Regions from separate parts of the Homo sapiens genome. Here all the other regions are linked to region 1. Evidence: promoter capture Hi-C in 16 types of primary human blood cells and fetal thymus (Javierre and others, 2016). All regions are on one chromosome and are shown on one strand. Each heading gives the region's core, a stretch centred on a gene start or on the middle of the fragment in contact. The rest is flanking DNA. Distances are from core to core; before and after follow the strand shown. Region 1 holds the start of ATP1B1 (ATPase Na+/K+ transporting subunit beta 1). Region 2 overlaps SFT2D2 (SFT2 domain containing 2). Region 3 has its middle 37 kb from the start of TBX19. Region 4 has its middle 41 kb from the start of MIR557. Region 5 overlaps LOC125312414 (a long non-coding RNA gene). Region 6 overlaps LOC125312414 (a long non-coding RNA gene). Region 7 overlaps LOC125312414 (a long non-coding RNA gene).

What was found. The method cuts DNA at HindIII sites, captures the fragments that hold promoters and counts their contacts. A CHiCAGO score of 5 or more calls a contact.
Region 2: a contact is called between a fragment that was not itself captured here and the fragment with the promoter of ATP1B1 in region 1, in 1 of 17 cell types (total CD8 T cells). The highest score is 6.8, in total CD8 T cells.
Region 3: a contact is called between a fragment that was not itself captured here and the fragment with the promoter of ATP1B1 in region 1, in 1 of 17 cell types (naive CD8 T cells). The highest score is 5.4, in naive CD8 T cells.
Region 4: a fragment that was not itself captured here is called in contact with the fragment with the promoter of ATP1B1 in region 1 in 2 of 17 cell types (naive CD8 T cells and total CD8 T cells); the score reaches 6.9 in naive CD8 T cells.
Region 5: a contact is called between a fragment that was not itself captured here and the fragment with the promoter of ATP1B1 in region 1, in 1 of 17 cell types (naive CD8 T cells). The highest score is 8.3, in naive CD8 T cells.
Region 6: a fragment that was not itself captured here is called in contact with the fragment with the promoter of ATP1B1 in region 1 in 3 of 17 cell types (naive CD8 T cells, total CD8 T cells and naive CD4 T cells); the score reaches 8.1 in naive CD8 T cells.
Region 7: a fragment that was not itself captured here is called in contact with the fragment with the promoter of ATP1B1 in region 1 in 4 of 17 cell types (naive CD8 T cells, fetal thymus, naive CD4 T cells and 1 more); the score reaches 7.0 in naive CD8 T cells.

The regions. Positions count from the first base shown.
Region 1 is chr1:169,105,405-169,107,990 of GRCh38, forward strand. It overlaps ATP1B1 (ATPase Na+/K+ transporting subunit beta 1), which reads left to right and starts at 1,286. Exons shown (of 6, transcript NM_001677.4): 1 at 1,286-1,522. The coding sequence starts at 1,426. RefSeq lists enhancers at 1-276, 767-1,061, 850-1,422, 1,423-1,995 and a silencer at 334-1,253. The HindIII fragment of the contact is 9,537 bases long and covers 1-2,586 here.
Region 2 is chr1:168,235,670-168,238,255 of GRCh38, forward strand. SFT2D2 (SFT2 domain containing 2) reads left to right here. Exons shown (of 8, transcript NM_199344.3): 5 at 920-955; 6 at 1,043-1,101. Among named protein-coding and RNA genes, the nearest start is that of SFT2D2, 11 kb to the left of the region's middle. The HindIII fragment of the contact is 1,418 bases long and covers 603-2,020 here.
Region 3 is chr1:168,316,655-168,319,240 of GRCh38, forward strand. No RefSeq gene overlaps it. Among named protein-coding and RNA genes, the nearest start is that of TBX19, 37 kb to the left of the region's middle. The HindIII fragment of the contact is 2,663 bases long and covers 1-2,586 here.
Region 4 is chr1:168,333,057-168,335,642 of GRCh38, forward strand. No RefSeq gene overlaps it. Among named protein-coding and RNA genes, the nearest start is that of MIR557, 41 kb to the right of the region's middle. The HindIII fragment of the contact is 3,098 bases long and covers 1-2,586 here.
Region 5 is chr1:168,402,034-168,404,619 of GRCh38, forward strand. It overlaps LOC125312414 (a long non-coding RNA gene), which reads right to left. Exons shown (of 8, transcript NR_176090.1): 8 at 1-474. It overlaps LOC100505918 (a long non-coding RNA gene), which reads right to left. Exons shown (of 5, transcript NR_176059.1): 5 at 1-310. Among named protein-coding and RNA genes, the nearest start is that of MIR557, 28 kb to the left of the region's middle. The HindIII fragment of the contact is 3,564 bases long and covers 1-2,586 here.
Region 6 is chr1:168,423,858-168,426,443 of GRCh38, forward strand. All of the region lies in intron 4 of LOC125312414 (a long non-coding RNA gene), which reads right to left. Among named protein-coding and RNA genes, the nearest start is that of MIR557, 50 kb to the left of the region's middle. The HindIII fragment of the contact is 4,174 bases long and covers 1-2,586 here.
Region 7 is chr1:168,445,222-168,447,807 of GRCh38, forward strand. The region is part of intron 4 of LOC125312414 (a long non-coding RNA gene); the gene reads right to left. Among named protein-coding and RNA genes, the nearest start is that of MIR557, 71 kb to the left of the region's middle. The HindIII fragment of the contact is 923 bases long and covers 834-1,756 here.

The sequences.
Region 1 (2,586 bases), core at 36-2,535:
GGTCTGCAACATCTTGCCCTATGCGCTAGGTTTTCCCAAAGGTCCTTTGGCTCCAAGAATTTTACAGCAGAACAAAGGGATCGATACCCCCAAGGGGGCATAAAAGCATGCCAATGAGAATACCCGCCGCCGACCGGGCACCAAGAAAGTCCTCGGTGGCTGGGTCACGTGCAGATATTGTTGCCTGGGGTCTAGACTGGCCTGAGTCTCAATTGGTTTCTACGGGACAACTCACTGCGGGCTACCGCCCTGGGTGGGTTTGGCAATTGTCCTGCTCGAGGTGGTTCAGGCCGCCCACAAGGGGCACAGCCGGGCAGTCAGGAACCGGGGCTGCCGGCTGGGCTGGCCTGCAAAGAAGAGGGAAGGGCCGGAACTGCAACCGCAGTGGCGGGGAGTGCGAGGGGGCGGCAGGTGCAGGAGCGGGAGGCGGGGCGGAGCTGGGCAGAGTCCTCGCCAGTCCGGCGTCCCGGAGTGACCTTCCCCCACCCCGCCAGCGCCCAGGAGGGGTGGACCCACAGCCCAGGGAGGCCGAAAGCGCGGGCGGGCAGGCAGAGGCGTGGAGGCTGGGCCAGGACTGCCGGGCTGGGGTCCTCGAGGCTCCGGGCGACCCAGGTGCGGATCCCCCAGCCACGGAAGGGGCGGTTCACGCCCAGCCGGGAGCTGGGAGGGGGCTGCGCGGCGCTGCCTGCGCGTCCCTCACCGCCGCCCCCGCCTCCTCCTCGCCCCGCGCCCAACGCCCCGCGCCCAGCGATCCAAGCGGCCCCTCTAGCCCCGGCGGCTCCTTTGTGCCGGCCCCGAACCCGCCCTCTCGGGCCGAGTCCCTGCCCCTGGCGCCGGCGATTGGCCACCGGGCCGCTAGAGGGCGGGGCGCACGGCCGCCGGGGCGCGGTATATAGTAAAGGTAGGGCGGGCGCAGCCAATTCCTCGGCTCCTGGCGGGAGTGCCGGTGGCGCCCCGCAGTCCGCTTGTCCGTCCTTCCCTCTCTGACTCTCCTACCCCGGGCCTGTCTCTGCAGAGGTCAGGGGAGGCGGGGGCCCAGCACACGTCCCCAGTGGCAGCGGGAGCGGCAGCTACGGGTTCGCGGAGCCCCCGACCCCCCAAGGGCTAGAGGAGCGCTCGGCGGACCAAAGAAAGCCCGCGAGCGGCTGCGCGCCCACCAATAGGTGCGGGGCTCGGAGCCGCGCAGCCTGCGCCGTCCCTCCCTCCGCCCCCGCCCCGCCGCCGCCGCCGCCGCCGCCTCCCCCTCCTCCTGCTCCTGCCTTGGCTCCTCCGCCGCGCGTCTCGCACTCCGAGAGCCGCAGCGGCAGCGGCGCGTCCTGCCTGCAGAGAGCCAGGCCGGAGAAGCCGAGCGGCGCAGAGGACGCCAGGGCGCGCGCCGCAGCCACCCACCCTCCGGACCGCGGCAGCTGCTGACCCGCCATCGCCATGGCCCGCGGGAAAGCCAAGGAGGAGGGCAGCTGGAAGAAATTCATCTGGAACTCAGAGAAGAAGGAGTTTCTGGGCAGGACCGGTGGCAGTTGGTGTAAGTACGGGGTCCGCAGCTCCCGGCCGCCGCGTCTGATCTTTCCCGGGCGGCGCATCCCCTGCGCAGGGTCCGCGGCCGGTTCCGCACCCACCGCGCTGGCCGGGGTGGCGGGGGCGAGGGTGGTGGACGCTGCTGGGTCGCGCCGGCCTGGGCTTGCAGTCCTGTGCGGAATGCGGTGTCCCCAGAGTGGGGCGCAGGGTCGGGGCTGGAACACGACAGGCGGAAGGTTATGCATATCGTAGCGATCTTGGCTTGGTAATTTGCAGTCTTTCCTACCGTGCATCGGTTGAGCCTTTTACTCCTGGGAATAGTCAGGCTCTGCGAGACTACATTTGTCTCTCCCGTGTCCTGAGTCCTTAAAAAAAAAATGAGATCTGGGGTCTTGAGAGAACCTCGTGAGGTGATGGGATCTAATGCAGACGAGGTTGTGTGTTACAGCATCTTTCTTCTAGTCTAAATACGTATCTCAAAAGAGAGGAAAGAGAAGGGTGGAGAGGAATCCATCCACACTGTAGTATTTCACAGCGATGGCTAAGGATTTCCCTCCATGACCTCCCCTGGAGTCATCACCACCCAGAAATGGTTCAATAAGCTCCATTTCAGGACTCCGATTCTTAGCTTTGGCCCGAAACCTGGCAAAGTCTGGTTGTTTTCAAGGTCTACACAGACAGTTGTGGATCAGTCAGTAGGTTGGGTTGATTATGGTGAAGGGAATATAAACGCAGAGCAGCTGATCTTAAAATATTTTGTGCAGCCTGTTGCTTGGTTGGATAGACTTTTTTCCATCGAAAATTAGATTTCTTGTTTTCAGCCTCTCCGGAAAGGTGACTTTTTTTTTTTTAAAAAAAAGGTCATTTTGAAGGGCAGAGTTGTAGGCGAATCTATGAGTCGTGACTGCGTGAGGGAAGGAGGGAGGGAACTCCCCCTGCTGCATCACTGCCCCCTCCTCCTCCAACATCATCATCATCATCATCATCATCATGACCATCACCACCAACACCACTGGCACCACCACTGCAGTCATTCAGGGAGTCCTGAACAGAGGCCGATTGGTGTTCCTG
Region 2 (2,586 bases), core at 62-2,561, 870 kb before region 1:
TCATCCTTGTACCCTGCTCTGACAACATTGTCTTTAGCTTTGTTGTATCTTCCTGTTCCATTGACCCTAAATGCCTCTCATTTTTGGCCTATTTTCTTCCCTGTGGTTGTCAAAATCATTCCAGACCTACATTCTCTGGACTTTTATAGCTATTGCAACATTTGGAACTTGAAGAACATACTTTTATTTTTAGTTTCATTTATATAATCTCATTTGTTCAAATAGGTGAGTTATCAAAAGCTGTGACCACATTTCCTGTTTATTTTGTGTCCTTTTAGAGTATTGGGCACAATGCTGGACACAGAGAATATTTAGGACATATTTGAGTAGTTATTGTTATAGAAGGATGGCGAAGAAAGGCATGGCTGACTGCTCTAGCACCAGTTGTCCTTGGCCAGCCTCAGATGCCCACGGCCTGGACAAGTCTCTTGCAGAAAGAGCTTTCTAAGAATGGCCTTAGGGAAAGTGTTAGGTGATAGGTACACAAGTAACTGGCATGCTGACTGTGAGATTGATATCTCAGGTTAACCTTTGTCCTCACATGTGCTTTCTGCTGCAGAGACTAGCATTTGGTAGGAGTTAAAATAGAAAGATTTGTGTTAAGCTTACTTTAGTGCATTTGAATGAAAAGATGGATGGACGGATGAATGGGTGGGCCTGAAATGTGATTTGTTTGCTGGGCAGAGGTTCTGGGAAAACTTGAAAGTAAAAGAACATCTTATCTATGTGAATCTTTATTGGCTAGTTTGATTTCATGGAGATTTTTAACTATTCTGCCAAATATGGGTGCTCAGGTGGGTTAACTGCTTTGAGATGAAGGATGCATAAGTTTTGTGCATTTGTGAAGAATAACAAGTTTTGAGTTTTTTTTTTCCTGCCATGTTATTGTCATTAATTAATGTTTCCTTTCTTCCTTTAGTTGTGTTTTGCACTTACCCTGTGTTCTGCCTTTTGGGTAAATGTATATTTTAATTTTTCTTAACCATTTTGGCTTTTGCCCCTTGTCTCACACTCTCCTATAACCATATTATTATTTTTCCAGTGGCATAACAAGGGACTTGCACTTATCTTCTGCATTTTGCAGTCTTTGGCATTGACGTGGTAAGTAACCTTTTAAACAATCCCCTCCCACATAGCCCACTGAATAATGTAGCCAAAGGAGATAAAACTCACATATTGTGGGTGGGAGAATTAAGAAAACACAGAAGCTGTTTAATTTAAGGATTCGTAATGATGAAAGTGAAGTCAGGCTCCAGAGCAAATGCCTATCAACCCAGCCCACTGCCAATAGATGGCATTAGTGGTCTTGAGTGGTCACAGGAGGCTCCTTGTTTGCCTGCTGTGGCATTTTTGCTGAACTAATGGTTGATTTTTGAGATGTTACAAATATTATTAAGCCACTCATGTCCGGTAAGTGCAAGGACAACAAAAGTATTATAAGGGATGTTAAAAAGGCTTGTGAGTCCAATAGAGGTTAACAAAAAAGGAAAGTGGTAAGAAAAATAATGAATGTTACATTTGTGATAGAATGAATCATTTAACAGAAGGACAAAGAGTGAACTGTCAGCAGGAGATGAGGAACAGTCACTGACGAAATGGAAAAACGTGTGTCTGTGGGCTGTAGGATCAGCGTATGTGCTCAGAGGCTTGTTGGCTTTTGGTAATTCAGCTGAAGAGTAGGAAATTGTAACTCCAGAGCCAAGTATAGTAAAAGGGCCGCTGGAGACATTTTGGGAAACCATGAGTGGGGCTGTAGGTTCATGGTCCTTTCAAGCCTATACGACCTCAGAGTGAGAGGGGTGGTGGCATAGTTGGAATCTGTAGGTTCCAAGACATTTCTGTAGTTCTTTCAAAGTTTATCAAGGGATGGTATCTGCCAGAACAGTTTCAGTATAGATGTGACTCACCTATTTTTGAAAAAAATGTTTGCTACAGTGTAAAGAAAGGAGGATTGTGGACATTTTAAAGTTCTGAAGAATTGGTTAACTCCTATTTGGTAGAAATGAATCTTGAGACTGTAAGCTTAACTCCCATCCCTCCCTTTAGCAATTTTGGACTTTTGAATAAATATAGTTACAAATTGCCTTTTGGAATTTACTGTGTTGACAAGTAATTGAGCTTCTGTACATGTTAAGTATAAGATATGGAGAAGGATGCTGGTGTTTGTGTTTATGTGTGTGTGTGTGTGTATGTTTTTTTTTTTTTTAAATGACATGCACATTTGAGTGGTAGACTGTTTATATTTTGATTTTTCTTCCAGGGCAGAAATTGGTACCTATATACACACACCTTGCTTTGCTTATAGACTGATTTTGAATCCAGTTTCAGAGGTTCAGCATTCATATGGGTCCAGCTGAATGGTGATATTCCCTTCAACACTCATGTGTTCTGACTGTGTTTGCTTTTCTAAGGGCTAACTTACAGTCTGCCTGACACACAGTGCCTGGTTCTTTAGCATTATGGAGCCTGTTCCTTGTATATGGTTTCCTTCTAAGTGACAGGGCTGAGCTAACTGGAATTTACCAAGATACCTTTGGACGTACTACATTTTCACTCATAGAGTAGTTGGTAGCATTTTTTTCTTCT
Region 3 (2,586 bases), core at 36-2,535, 790 kb before region 1:
AGTGAATATCAGCAAGTTAAAATGTCACATTTGTGAAGAATATGAATTCTGTTTTACGGAAATTGTGGGTCAGCCAAAGTAGGGGATGGCAACTGGGGCATTCAAGTGGCCCTTCTTTCAACTCCTTCCTTTTTATTTTCTCCACCCATTCCCACTTTATTGAGCCACTTGTTGGCTACTGGCCAGGTTGGTGAACAGAGAGAGTACGGGCATCCTTGAGCCACTTGTTGGCTACTGGCCAGGTTGGTGAACAGAGAGAGTACGGGCATCCTGGAACAGAGGTTAAGGTAGGGATATGTGGTGCCACAAAAGATATAAAGGAACAGCCTCTGTGGTCTGAAGACACCAAAACTTTTCCATCATCATCATTATAGACACATCTATGGGGTAGTCTGTCCAACCCCCCAACCTTCTAGGAATAGAACCCCCCCAAACTCTTGGTGAAACTACCTTTTTGGAATAAGTAATGAGAGAAATCTAACGTGACTGACTCCATCTTGCTTCTAACCTCACAGGCTAAATTTCTTTTTTTTTTTGTAGACTGAAGCTGCGTTCATAAGACAAGGCTAAAATTGTGGTAGGGCCTTGGACTTTGCTGTAGAATAGGCATAGTTAAACCATGACCTGCCATCGCTTAGTTTGTTTTTCTATAAGTTGTTTACTGCCCCAGAATCACAAAACTGGGGGTCACATGATTTATAACTCCCCCATCTACTCCTATAGCTAACATCACTATTGTGAAACCTAAAGAACTGGTCTTTGAGATATCTTTCAGATTTAGCATTGTGACAAAACAAGAGATGCCACCTGGTCCTGAGGCCCTCTTCCAGGAACTGACTCAGCCACACGAAGACAGTTTTAGGTGTCCCTGTGATTTCATCTCCAGCCAATCGTTTCAGTTCTCCAGCCCCCTTCCTGCCAAAGTACCTAGGCTACTGAAATAAAACTGGCGTCTGGGAAACCCGGAGGCCAGAGCAACTGGTCAGGCCCAGGTGAGGACTTAGAATTCAACTAGTTGGGAGTGAGAAGTTGGTCAATCTCTCATTCTCAACATGGAAACATCGGAAATTCACATTTTCTGGTCATGACCACTCTTATTTGGAGCACTTTGTAGGAGTAACTGTGTGTGTTTATGTGTGTGTGTGTGTGTGTGTGTATGCACAAGTATGTCTATTTAGTGATGAGTTCCCTGTCCCTAGAGAATAAGTCAATAAACCTTTGGGGTAGATTCACTTTGTTCTGAAAGAACACTTTTTAGGGGGTGGAGTTTGGGGAGGAGTGTTAACAAGGAGTTTTGGGTTAACCAGGGCTGGTTCTGGAGGATGGAGCTGTGGTATCCCTCCTACATACTTATTAGATGGGGAGGGCTTGGAGCTTGGAGGTTGCTGAGGAGGAATCAGACATATTTTAGGTGGGAACGTAGTAATCTCTTAGAAGGAAAGACCTTTTCTATTTGTGGTTAAAATGTAGTGAAATATATTGGATGGCTTGGGTTAGCCCAGACCAAGGTTGGGCAGCAGGAAAAGTATATTTCCTCTAAGACAAAATTATATTACCACAATGGGAGGAGTAGTTTGAATGGATGACTGGTTTCCACACAAGAGCAACTGGAGGTAAGAGATGCTCCTGGACCCAATGTGGACTTATGCAGCCACCTGGACACTGCCATGCCTTGAGAAAAATGGCTGGTGTGTGGGTTAAAAGAGTGGATCCTCAAGCGTTAACACTTGGGGCCTGGGCTAAAGTTGCTAAGTGGGATATGTTGGGGGAAAATGTCCAGGGTTGTAATGACAGGAAGTCATGAGAGATTGAGGATACTCCATGGATTTCTGTTAACTTGAGCAGGTGGGTGTTGATGGTTACTAGAGTTAGAAATTTAAATTAGAGAAATGGCTAATTGTGTTATTACAGGGTGGATGACTGTCTTGGTTATACTTGAGGACAAAAACTGTCTTCCATTGCTGTACCTCCAACACCTTGCACATGTGCCTGGTAGGTACATGGTAGGCACCCCACAGGTATTAATCCAGAATTTTTAGAAATAATCCTTAGCAGTACTTGGAAATTTTAGGTGGGGAAACATGTTTGGTTTGATAAAAAGTTCTTTGTATATTTTTGTCAAAGTTGTGTCTTTATAAGATCGTATTTCTTTAGAAAAGTTTTTTTTTGTTGTTATTTGTTTGTTTGAGACAGAGTCTTGCTCTGTTGCCTAGGCTGGAGTGCAGCGGCACGATCTTGGCTCGCTGCAACCTCTGCCTGCTGGGTTCAAGCAATTCTCCTGCCTCAGCCTCCCGAGTAGGTGGGATTACAGGCGCTCACCGTCATGCTTGGCTAATTTTTTTGTATTTTTGTAGAGATAGGGTTTCACCATGTTGGTCAGGCTGGTCTCAAACTCCTGACCTCTGGTGATCCACGCGCCTCGGCCTCCCAAATTGCTGCGATTACAGGCATGAACCGCCGGGCCCAGACAGATTATTATTTTTAATAGCTTTATTGATATATAATTTACACAGCCTATTTAAAGGGGAAATTCATTGGACTTTTCTAGTATATTTACAGAGTTGTGTGCCCATAACCATAATCTAA
Region 4 (2,586 bases), core at 31-2,530, 770 kb before region 1:
TTAGGAATTTAAAATTCTCACTGAAGTATATAATCTAAGACCCTTGATCTTTACCAATTTAGTCACATGATACTTGCACCTGGCAAAGCCCATAAATTAATAACTGGAGCCAAATGGCAGGTACTTGAGAAAGATATCAAATATGTGTTACAGGAAAAGGGTCCCAATCCAGACCCCAAGAGAGGGTTCTTGGATCTCGTGCAAGAAAGAATTCAGGGTGAGTCCGTACAATAAAGTGAAAGCAAGTTTATTAGGAAAGTAAAGGAATAAAAGAATGGTTACTCCTTAGACAGAGCCACCCATAGAGCTGCTGGTTGGCCATTTTTATGGTTAATTCTTGATGATATGTTAAACAAGGGGTGGATTATTCATGCCTCCCTTTTTAGACCATATAGGGTAACTTCCTGATGTTGCCATGGTATTTGTAAACTGTCAGTGGTTCTGGTGGGAGTGTAGCAGTGAGGGAGACCAGAGGTCACTCTTGTTGCCATCTTGGTTTTGGTGGGTTAGAGCTGGCTTCTTTACTGCAAACTGTTTTATCAGCAAGGTCTTTATGACCTGTATTTTATGCCAACCTCCTATCTCATCCTATGATTTACAATGCTTTAATCATCTGGGAATGCAGCCTAGTAGGTTTCAGCCCCATTTTACCCAGCTCCTATTCAAGATGGAGTTGCTCCCGCTCAAACGCCTTGGCAGATTCGACCACTCAATATTTCAGGAGTGGACCAATAAAAGGCTATGAAAATAGCAAATAATCTCCTAGAATCCATTCTTGAAATATTCCCTCAAAAAAAGTCCACTGCTCTGTCATTCCATCTTGTAAACAAACAAACAAAAAAGAATAAACCGGTCTCTGACTATAAGGCAAGATTAGAAGTACTATTTGTAAAACATTCTGGTCTCATGCTGAGTCCAGGCATAGAAAATGCCTTGTCTGCCCTATTCATTATGGGTTCTGCTCTAAACTCAGTAATATAGTTTGAAAAACACAGGCTGGGCTAGGAAGCTGCCTATTCAGCTAAATTAGTCTCAAAATATGCCTTTTCAGCGTAAGTACTACTTTCAGCTGATTATTTTGGGACTGTTTTGTAAGAAAAATGTACTTCCATAAAGGAAACCTTCATTTGTAAGGCCTCTCTGCATCAGAAAGAGAAGAAAGACGGCATCACTAAAAACTGTTACAATGGAAAAGGAACTGGCTTAAGGCTACTTAACAAGACTCACTTTTCTTTAAGGCGGCTTTCCCGGTCTTCTTGTCTTAACTGGTCCTTCACCTATATGCTTTTTTGTTTCTGCAAATGATGGTATTTAATCATAAAGTCTAAGCTCCATGTCTTTGAAATGTAAATTTTCTACCTTGTCATATCTTAGAGCACTTTGGAAATGCAAATTTAAGGGAAATGATTCATTGGAGGAAAACAAAAAAGGAGCTATGTGGAAACTAGCAAACACAAAATCTTTCAAGTCTTTTCTACAAATATTGGAAAAATGTTCTAGCCATCTGGGCAGATAATCTCATTCCATTGGTCAGAAATACAATTCTGAATCAGATATTCTTTTACAAACTGATGAGTTTTATATATTGTACCTGGTATGTGACTAAAACTAAAATGAAAGCTATAGGATCTCTGCATATGTCTATGTTTAAGTAAGTCTATTTATGTTATATATATGTAACCTTTTTCTGCCTCTGGATGGTATTGACAAAATTATAAAAGAGCTCTAATTGGCTTAGAGAAAAATGAGTGCTTATATAAATTAAGTATTCCTTAAACTCTTGGAAGTATAGAAACTAACCCAAATGCTTTTCAAGTTCACATGACTTAGGTACATCTTTGGAAAACAAAACAAGACTAGTTCAGTATTTTTGGTTTAATAAAAGTAGTTGTGTCTTTTGAGTTACCAGTTTTGAGGACAATATCAGCATAACATTTTAATTTTACTTGGGTTTACCAGTCAAATAAGTTTATGTTATCTTTACTGCATGTTTCAGATTATAGATCTATGAGGTCAACCTAAGAATAAATGTACAAGTGGAAGTACAGTGTCCATTACTTCATGTATATCATATGTAGCAGAAAAATAGCAACAAAAATCACGTATTTAACATTTAGGATTCTTGCTTTCATGAAGACTGTCTGACCTGCACATGCCGTCAAAATAGCTAACAGAGAATAACTTGATGATGGCTAGCTTTGTTTTGTATTATAATGTGTCTATTTAAAAATAGTTTCCCAAATCTCTTTGGTAACTTACACCCTTGGAATTTCACTAAATGAAATTAAATGATGAATATTCATTTAAATATTTAGATCATTTCCAAATAAGATAAAATACTGAAACATTAATTTCTTTAAACTGATCTAATTTTGGCTTCTTATTACAGAAAAATTAAAGATATTTGGTCTGTTAGCAAACATGTCTTGTGCCACATTGAAAAATTGTACTATGAGAAAGTACATGCTTCTAAAAATTAAAGTTAATGAGAGTTAAGAATTCTGGCTGACATGTGATAATTAAAACTAGAAATAATAAGAGAAACAACTCGTATATGAGGTGTGTAAGACATGTTTTTGGTAAGTA
Region 5 (2,586 bases), core at 59-2,558, 700 kb before region 1:
GAGACCTTGGAACCTTGCAGTGACTTGGACTGTCTTCTGCTTTTTTCAGTCTCTTCAGAAGTGTCCTTGTCTTCCTGGCCTCCAATTGCTCTGCTGATGTTGGTGGCTGTGGCCTGCTACTTGTGCATCTTGTAGCTGGGTTCTTTTTCCTTTTCTCTCTCAAATTGGTCAGAGCCCAGCATCTGCCCCCAGGATGATCTGATCTTGTCTCTGCTCTTGCTGTATTTTTGTCATGTTCTCCGATGGCTTTGTCCACATGTCCACCTGAAGTGTGTGGAGTAAAGTCTTCTGATTTCTGCTCCTATAAGTCCTGGTGCAGCAGGATAATTTAGGAATCAGAGAGACCAAAGGTCGAGGAGGATATATATTATTTATTATTTAGGTGCACCGGCCCAGTCAGATTAACATCCAAAAAGATTGAGCCCTGAACAAAGAGTCCGGTTACTTTTTAAGTATTTTGTGGGCCGGGGAGATCTGTGCAGGGGGAAGTATATTACAGAAGAGAGAAACAAAGACAGTTATTCAATTGAGACATGCATTACATTATTTCTTACTTTCCAAGGAAAAACACGTTTTATGACTTGAGTTTATCTGCCTAGTGACCTTGCAGCTGCACAGCTAGAGAAACAGGGTCTTCACAATGCCTGGGAAAGGTGGAGAGATAAGACTCACTAGCCACAGAAAAACAGGCAGTTAATTTTTAAAGGACTTCAGCTCTTCCTCTTCCTCAAGGGGAATTGGGTTTTCTTATATACAATGATATAATGAGTTTTTGCTTACACATTCTTTAATTTCTTTTAATTCCTGTTTCACTGGTAGGCTGTGGGCTCTCAGCTAGGAACTCACTGTATAAGGGGATGTGTGCAGGATGAGAAGTATGGACTAGATGTTTTGTTTTCTACCACAGAACAGCAAGGGGAACCTTCTGTGTTCTGTGGGGAACCCATGATTTCGGCAGCCAGACTTGATTCTGGATTAAGCTAAAAGAGAGGATAAAGGAATTCAGGAAATCTTTTCTTGCATGACTACTGGCTTGCTGCAAAATTCCATTTTAAAGTAAAAAATCAGAATATGAACTCTTCCTCCCAGCTTCTTTGCATTTTTCCTTTACAGTTTTCATCTTTCCCAGAGCAGATGGATGGCTCTGGCCATCTAGGGGATACATTTACTTTTTTGGGTTGGCAGAAGAGAAAAGTGTGTGGGGTGTGTCCATGTTTCAAAGTAGGATTTCTGTTACTATACTATTTTAAGGATTTTGGGTGCTTCTCCCTAGGATCACTGGGAAGTCACTGAAGCATTTTTAGCAAGGGAGTGACAGATTCAGATTTGCATTTTTATAAAGACCTTGCTGTCTACTGTAGAGAATAGATTGGATGGGGCAAGCTACATACAGGCAGATCAGTCGGCAGTTAGTGTGTGGTGGCAAAGGAGATAAACAGAGACAGAATTGAGGGATGTCTAGATGGTCAGACAATAGGATAGGGAGACGGATCAGATATAGGGTTGAAGGAGAAATAGGTATCAAGAAAGAACCTCAGTTTCTGCTTTATATGACTGGAGAAATCTGGGGACCATTTACTGAAAAAGGGAATAGAAGGAGATCCAGATTTAGAGAGTGGTGAAAAAATGATGTCCAGTAGGACATTTTGAGTTTAAAGTATCTCAGAGAAATGCAAATGGAGATGATCAGTAAGTGGTGGGATGTTTGAGTCTGAAGCCCAGGGCAGAGTCATTTATGTGTAAATGTCTTAGTCTGTTTGAGTGGCTTAACAAGATACCACAAACTGGGTAGTTTATAAACAATGGAAATTTATTTCTCACAGTTCTGGTGGCTGGAAATCCAAGATCAAAGTGTCAGCAGATTTGGTGTCTGGTGAGGGCCCACTTTCTGGTTCACAGATGGCTCCTGCTAGCTGTATCCTCATGTGGTAGAAGAGGCAAAGCAGCTTTCTGGGGCCTCTTTTATAGGGGCACTAATCCCATTCATGGGGGGTTCCATCCTCATGACCTAATCACCCCCTAAAGGCTCTATCTCCAAATACATCACATTAGTGACTCACTTTCAACACATGTGTTTGGGGGCACATACACATCAGACCATAGCTGTAAGTGAACATATGTGCAGTGGAAGCAAACAACCCAGGGAGGGAGCATGGAAGGAGAAGAGAAGTGGGTGTTGGATGATGAAAGAAAGCACAGAGGTCTGGTGGTAGATAGAGGTGACTTATATTAAAAGTATACAAAGAATTTATAGTAAGAGAGGCTTTTCTTGTTAAAGAGGGGAAAGCCTTGAGCACTTTTAAATACACAATCCTGAGATAGTGACAAAGTGAAGAGGAGAGAGTAGATGGATTTAGAGCACAGCTTCCCTATCTCCTTTCTCAGATAGGGAAAAAGAAACTTCCTCTATGACATAAAGGAGGGAGCAAGGGTTCACCTAGAGAAGATAGATTTGTAGTGGGGAGACCAGGACGTGAAGGCATTACCATCTGATGATCTCCGTTTTTGTTGTCATGTAGGATACAAGATCTCCTAGAAAGTGGATTGGCTTTTAAGGATGGAGTTTTGGTTGGGGATTTAAGGATG
Region 6 (2,586 bases), core at 54-2,553, 680 kb before region 1:
TCTCTATTAAAAAAAATTAACTGGAAGAAACCAGTTGTTAGAAGGAGGTTGAATGTACTAGAGAGAGAAAGATTCCACATGAGATGTACATAGAAAGGCAGGAAGGATGGGACCTACAGCCCTGTGTTCCAAAGAGGTTATGGTGACACTGTCACAAAATATTTTGCTGAATATCTGTCAGGACACAGGTATTCTGAGAGTGTCACAGGGTTTTTGATCTCTGAAGGGCTAGTGTGCTTTGGCTTTGGCTTTCACGTTGACTCCTCTGCCTGGGGAAGAGAAGTCTCTATGTACATGCAAGAGCTGTGCATTTTTACAGAGACTCAGGGCTGAGAAGGGTTTCTGTGTGGGAAAGTTTATCTCCAACATTGCCTTCAACCAGGCTGGTCATGCAGTGTCCATAGTGCTCTGTGCCCTGACTTGGCTTCAAAAGGAATGGCCTGGAGAGACCAATACTTGTTTATTCTTTTCTATTTTCCTCTACTGAATTATGCAGCCATACAGGATTCCTATTATAAATTCCATGAATCAGCTCTTCCTAATGAAAGATTTTTGCATTTTGGGGCAATTTTTGTGGAAATATTTTGCAAAATGTGAAGTGACAGCTGCCTCTTGTCAGACACCCTGATTCCAGCTGCACTAGCAATTTGGGTTCCAGAAAGTTCTCAGACAGGAAGGAGTCATGCTATAGACACAAAACAACCCATACATTTAATTCCACTGGAACTGCATTTAGATCCTACGGTCATGCTAGAGAAAGTTTGTAATTCTGGAATGGTTGCTGAGAAAGACTGTTTCCAGATTTTTACGCATCTATTTGTAATTTCTTGGTACCGATGATCAGTTTAATGAATGTCAACTGAGCACTTTGTCCAAGTCCCTGGGTGGGAGACAGATGAACAAGGCATGGTCCACATTACCAGAGTGCTGGGGATAGATGGATTCACAGACACAAAGTCATCATCTCTGCAATACAGAGGAAACAAAATGAAATGAAACAGTAACACAGAAGCAGAGAAGGTGAGGGAGGTGATGGAGTGTGTTTGTGTGTGTGTGTGTGTGTGTGTGTGTGTATTTAAGGGTGACACTGGCAGAGCTAGGACAAAGGCTGGAACTGGAAAATGCTCATAGAGCAGATGACAGTCAAGTTGGATCTTGAAACATGGGTGGGAGTTTGAGAGGCAAAGATGGAGGGTGAAGTGGGGAAGCCAAAGTCAAACACAAGGTCTGTTTGGTTATATTTGCTGAGCAGAGCTGTTACTTTGTACCTCTCTAGTCCACACACCTTTGATGAATTCCCACCACTTGCAAAATAAAGCCTAACCCTACAGCCAGTTTGGAGTAGGGAATGTCTGGCCATGCAGTTGATCTTCATTTTGCAGGTAGTGGAGAGTTATTGAAGGAGTTTGGCCTGGAGAGGTCCGAGGTAACAGCTCTGCTTAGCAAGGTCACCAAGGGGAGAAGCAGAGGAGTGAGTTGCGGGGCAGAGAGGCCTGTTGGGGGGCTGTGGCAAAATCCTAGGTGAGAATCCATGAACAAGAATGAGAATAGGAACAATGGGACTGAAAAAAAAAGATGGCAGCTATGAGGGAAGGACATAGAAAGGAAAGGGTGAAGTCAACAATGAATTGGAATCAACAGACGTATTTACTCAGCAGAGACAGTTAATGTTTCTCCCCTACCCCTAATATTTCCTCTCTTCCTCTTCTTTTGTTATGGAAATACTAGCTAGGTACGTGGTTACTCAGGATAAAGACTACATTTTTTTCCAGCCTCCTTGCAGCAAGGGGTCTCTAGGTATCAAGTTTTGGCTAACAGGATGCAATGGGACAGTTTCTGCATGCTCTCTCTTCCTTCTCCCCCTACCCCCATTTCAATTCTTGGATGTGGCTGGGATGGTTGAAGCCCCTTCCAGTCATTAACAAGGGCTCTGCAGGACTGGTCAACAAAAGAGAAGGAGTCTTTGTCCCTGACACCATGGACCAGCCTGGTAAGCACCCAGACTTTTATGGGAGGAAGTAATAACTACGGTCTTCGTTAAGCTACTGTTATTTTGGGTTTTCAGTCACTCACAGGTAAACCTAATTTGAGCTGATATAAATGGTGACTGATTTTGGCTTCTGCTGACAAACCCAGAGACTAAAGGTAGGAGCCTGGGCCCCAGGAGAGGGGATGTTGGAAGGAACATCCCATTCAGGAGAGCAGGGCAGGTTCTGAGCACAAGGTAGCAGGCTAATGCTAAGAAGAAAGATGATCAGGAAGAACCTCTGCCCATGTGCTGTCTTTCGGCCCTGGTAGAGTTTGTCACATGCTAGAGTCCTTAGTTAGCAATGTCTTAGGAAGTGAAGGGGGATGCCAGTGTCCAGGCTTGGCTTTACAGAGAACAGGATGAGCAGCTTGGGCAGCCAGGAGAAGCTGTTATGAGTTGGCCAGGGATAAAGGACAGAGAGGGGGTATCTGGAAGAGGCATAAGAGACATCTTGGACAACATAAGCACTTCTGGGCATCCTTAGATGTATTTGGGAGGGTACTGATAATTTTGTCTTGCATAATGGGGGAGCTCAGATGGTCATCTTCCAAATATCA
Region 7 (2,586 bases), core at 45-2,544, 660 kb before region 1:
CCAGCACTTTGAGAGGCTGAGGCAGGCGGATCAGGAGGTCAAGAGAACTAGACCATCCTGGCCAACATGGTGAAACCCCGTCTCTACTAAAAATAGAAAAATTAGCTAGGCGTGGTGGCATGCGCCTGTAGTCCCAGCTACTTAGGAGGCTGAGGCAGGAGAATCACTTGAACCCAGGAGGTGGAGGTTGCAATGAGCCTAGATAGTGCCATTGCACTCCAGCTGGGGTGACAGAGTGAGACTCCGTCTCAAAAAAAAGAAAATACCAGAAGGAGGCCAGGCGTGGTGGCTCACATGGCTCACATCGGTAGGCAGAGGTTGCAGTGAGCCGAGATCGCACCACTGCACTCCAGCCTGGGCGACAGAGCGAGACTCCATCTCCAAACAAACAAACAAACAAACAAAAAAACAAAAAAAAAAAAAAGAAGAAAGAAAGACAACCCTGGGCATAGTGTAGAAGGAGAGGGGAAAGGAATGATGGGGAGGCAGCAGGTCCAGGTAGGATTCAACTGCAATAACCTGAGTGATAGCTGATAAGAACCTGAGCTGGCACAGTGTCAGCCGGCGGGAGAGGAGTCAAACTGGGAAATGAGAGGAGTTGCACCAGACTGAGCTTATCAGTTGTCTGGGGTTGGGGATGACAGAGCAGAAAGAGTCTGGGAAGGTGAACGTTCAGGGTTTGAGGTCCTGCTGCAAGGGACAACATTCTTTGAAATGTTTTTATCTTAAACATTCATGCAAATTTCTATTTTTTACTTAAAAATGTACCAATGTTTGCATTTCTATGAAAATAATATGTAAAACAAGTTTACAGACCGAACTTTCCTTTCCAAAGCTTCAGAGAAAATGGACATGTAAGAAAACTGCACCATGGTCGTGTGTGGTTTCTGATGCTCCCAGCAAATACCCCTTTTGAAAAGAGTGGAAGTCTTCCATGATCTGGCAACATCTCCCCTTGTAACCTTCGTTTTGGCCAAACTGATCTATTTACGGTTCCCTTAGCCTTCTCATGAATATTCTACTTCTCTGGTTTTGTATGTTTCAGATTTTCTGGTGCTTCTCCAGGCCATCTTCCAGGGCCAACTGAGATACTGCATCCTCCCTCCAGCCTTCCAGAACTATGAACCCCTTCTAGCTCCTTTCTCTGAAATTCAGCAGACTTTTTCTGCGCTGCTTTTATAATTTAACGGTAGATAAAATCATATGTAAAAAGAGCTAAAAAAAGTATTGTGACTATTATTATTATAGTGCTTCAAGGTTGTATGTTTTGTTTTTTTTCAAGCAGATTTTAAGTCCTAGAAGTCAGGGACTATGTCACTGATGTCTTTGTTGCTGCACTCAGCTCAACATATACTTTTTGGATAGATGCAGTCATTCTGTATATAGAAAACAAACTTATATTCAAGTAGAGGGAACAGATGGTAACTTTTTTCCCCCAGAATATATTTGTGACTTTAAGTTGAATGTTTATTCCCATTAAATGAACTATTTTATTTCCTCTGTAAAGCAAATTTAAATATCAGAAAATCAGGATATCTCCTCTCTTTATGTTTTCTCCTTTGATGTGACAAGTAAAAGGTAGGGCTTGGGTCACCTTAGGTGGCTGTGATTCTGATATTGTGCAAGTGCAAGCACTTTTTCTGTCAAGCCTGCCTGAGCCCAGTTCTTAGCTTTTAGGCAGACATTTCCCTGCTTGCAAAATCAAAAGCTAAGAGAAGTATGATGGGAAATTGCTTTCTAAAGACACCCATGCAGAAGCTTATGGCTTTCCCTGAAGGCCTCCTCTCCTTACACTAGGTTGGGTATTTCCACCATGTCACACTTTATTGTTAGTGTTGATGGCCTGGGCTCCCCAGTAGTGGAAGCTCCCTGGGGGGATGTCTGTGTCTTATAAGGCAAAATCTCATCAAAGAGTGTATTGGAGTTATTTCTTGAGAGAACATATGAAGAGAAAACTGGAAAATGTACCAGAAGGAGGTAGAAGGAGACAAAGATCATTTGATACTTTTTCAGTCCACTAAAGGTCTGAATCTGGTAATTATGGGTTGAGAAAATGGAGAGAAAAAATGCAGAGAATTTCTGGTGAAGCTGTTGATACAAATAGAAAGGCTGAATGAGGGAAGTCAAATAAAAAAAAGCAGAAAAGTATGGAACAAATGGATGAGGCTATGGTTTGGAGGAATCAAAACATAGTATATCGGTTAAGTGACTTTAGATTCAGAGAAGAAAATGGAGTCTTTTGAGTTCACTTCATCTCCTTTCATATCATCCTGGAACCACGTTCCAACTGGCAAGGCACTAGTTATCTACTGGATCTCTAAATCCTTTAGGAGGTGAATTTAACCTCCAAAATGTGCTTTGAATTGGTGGTTTCTTCACCATCATTATTATCGACGTCCTATGGCTGCCGTAACAATTTACCACACACTTAGTGGCTGAAAACAATACAAATGTATTATCTTATAGTTGTGTAGGCTAGAAGTCTGATATGGATCTCATTGGGCTAAAATGAAGGACTTGGTAGGGCTGCATTTCTTTCTGGAGGCTTAGGAGAGAGAATCTGCTTCTTTGCCTTTTCCAGTTTTC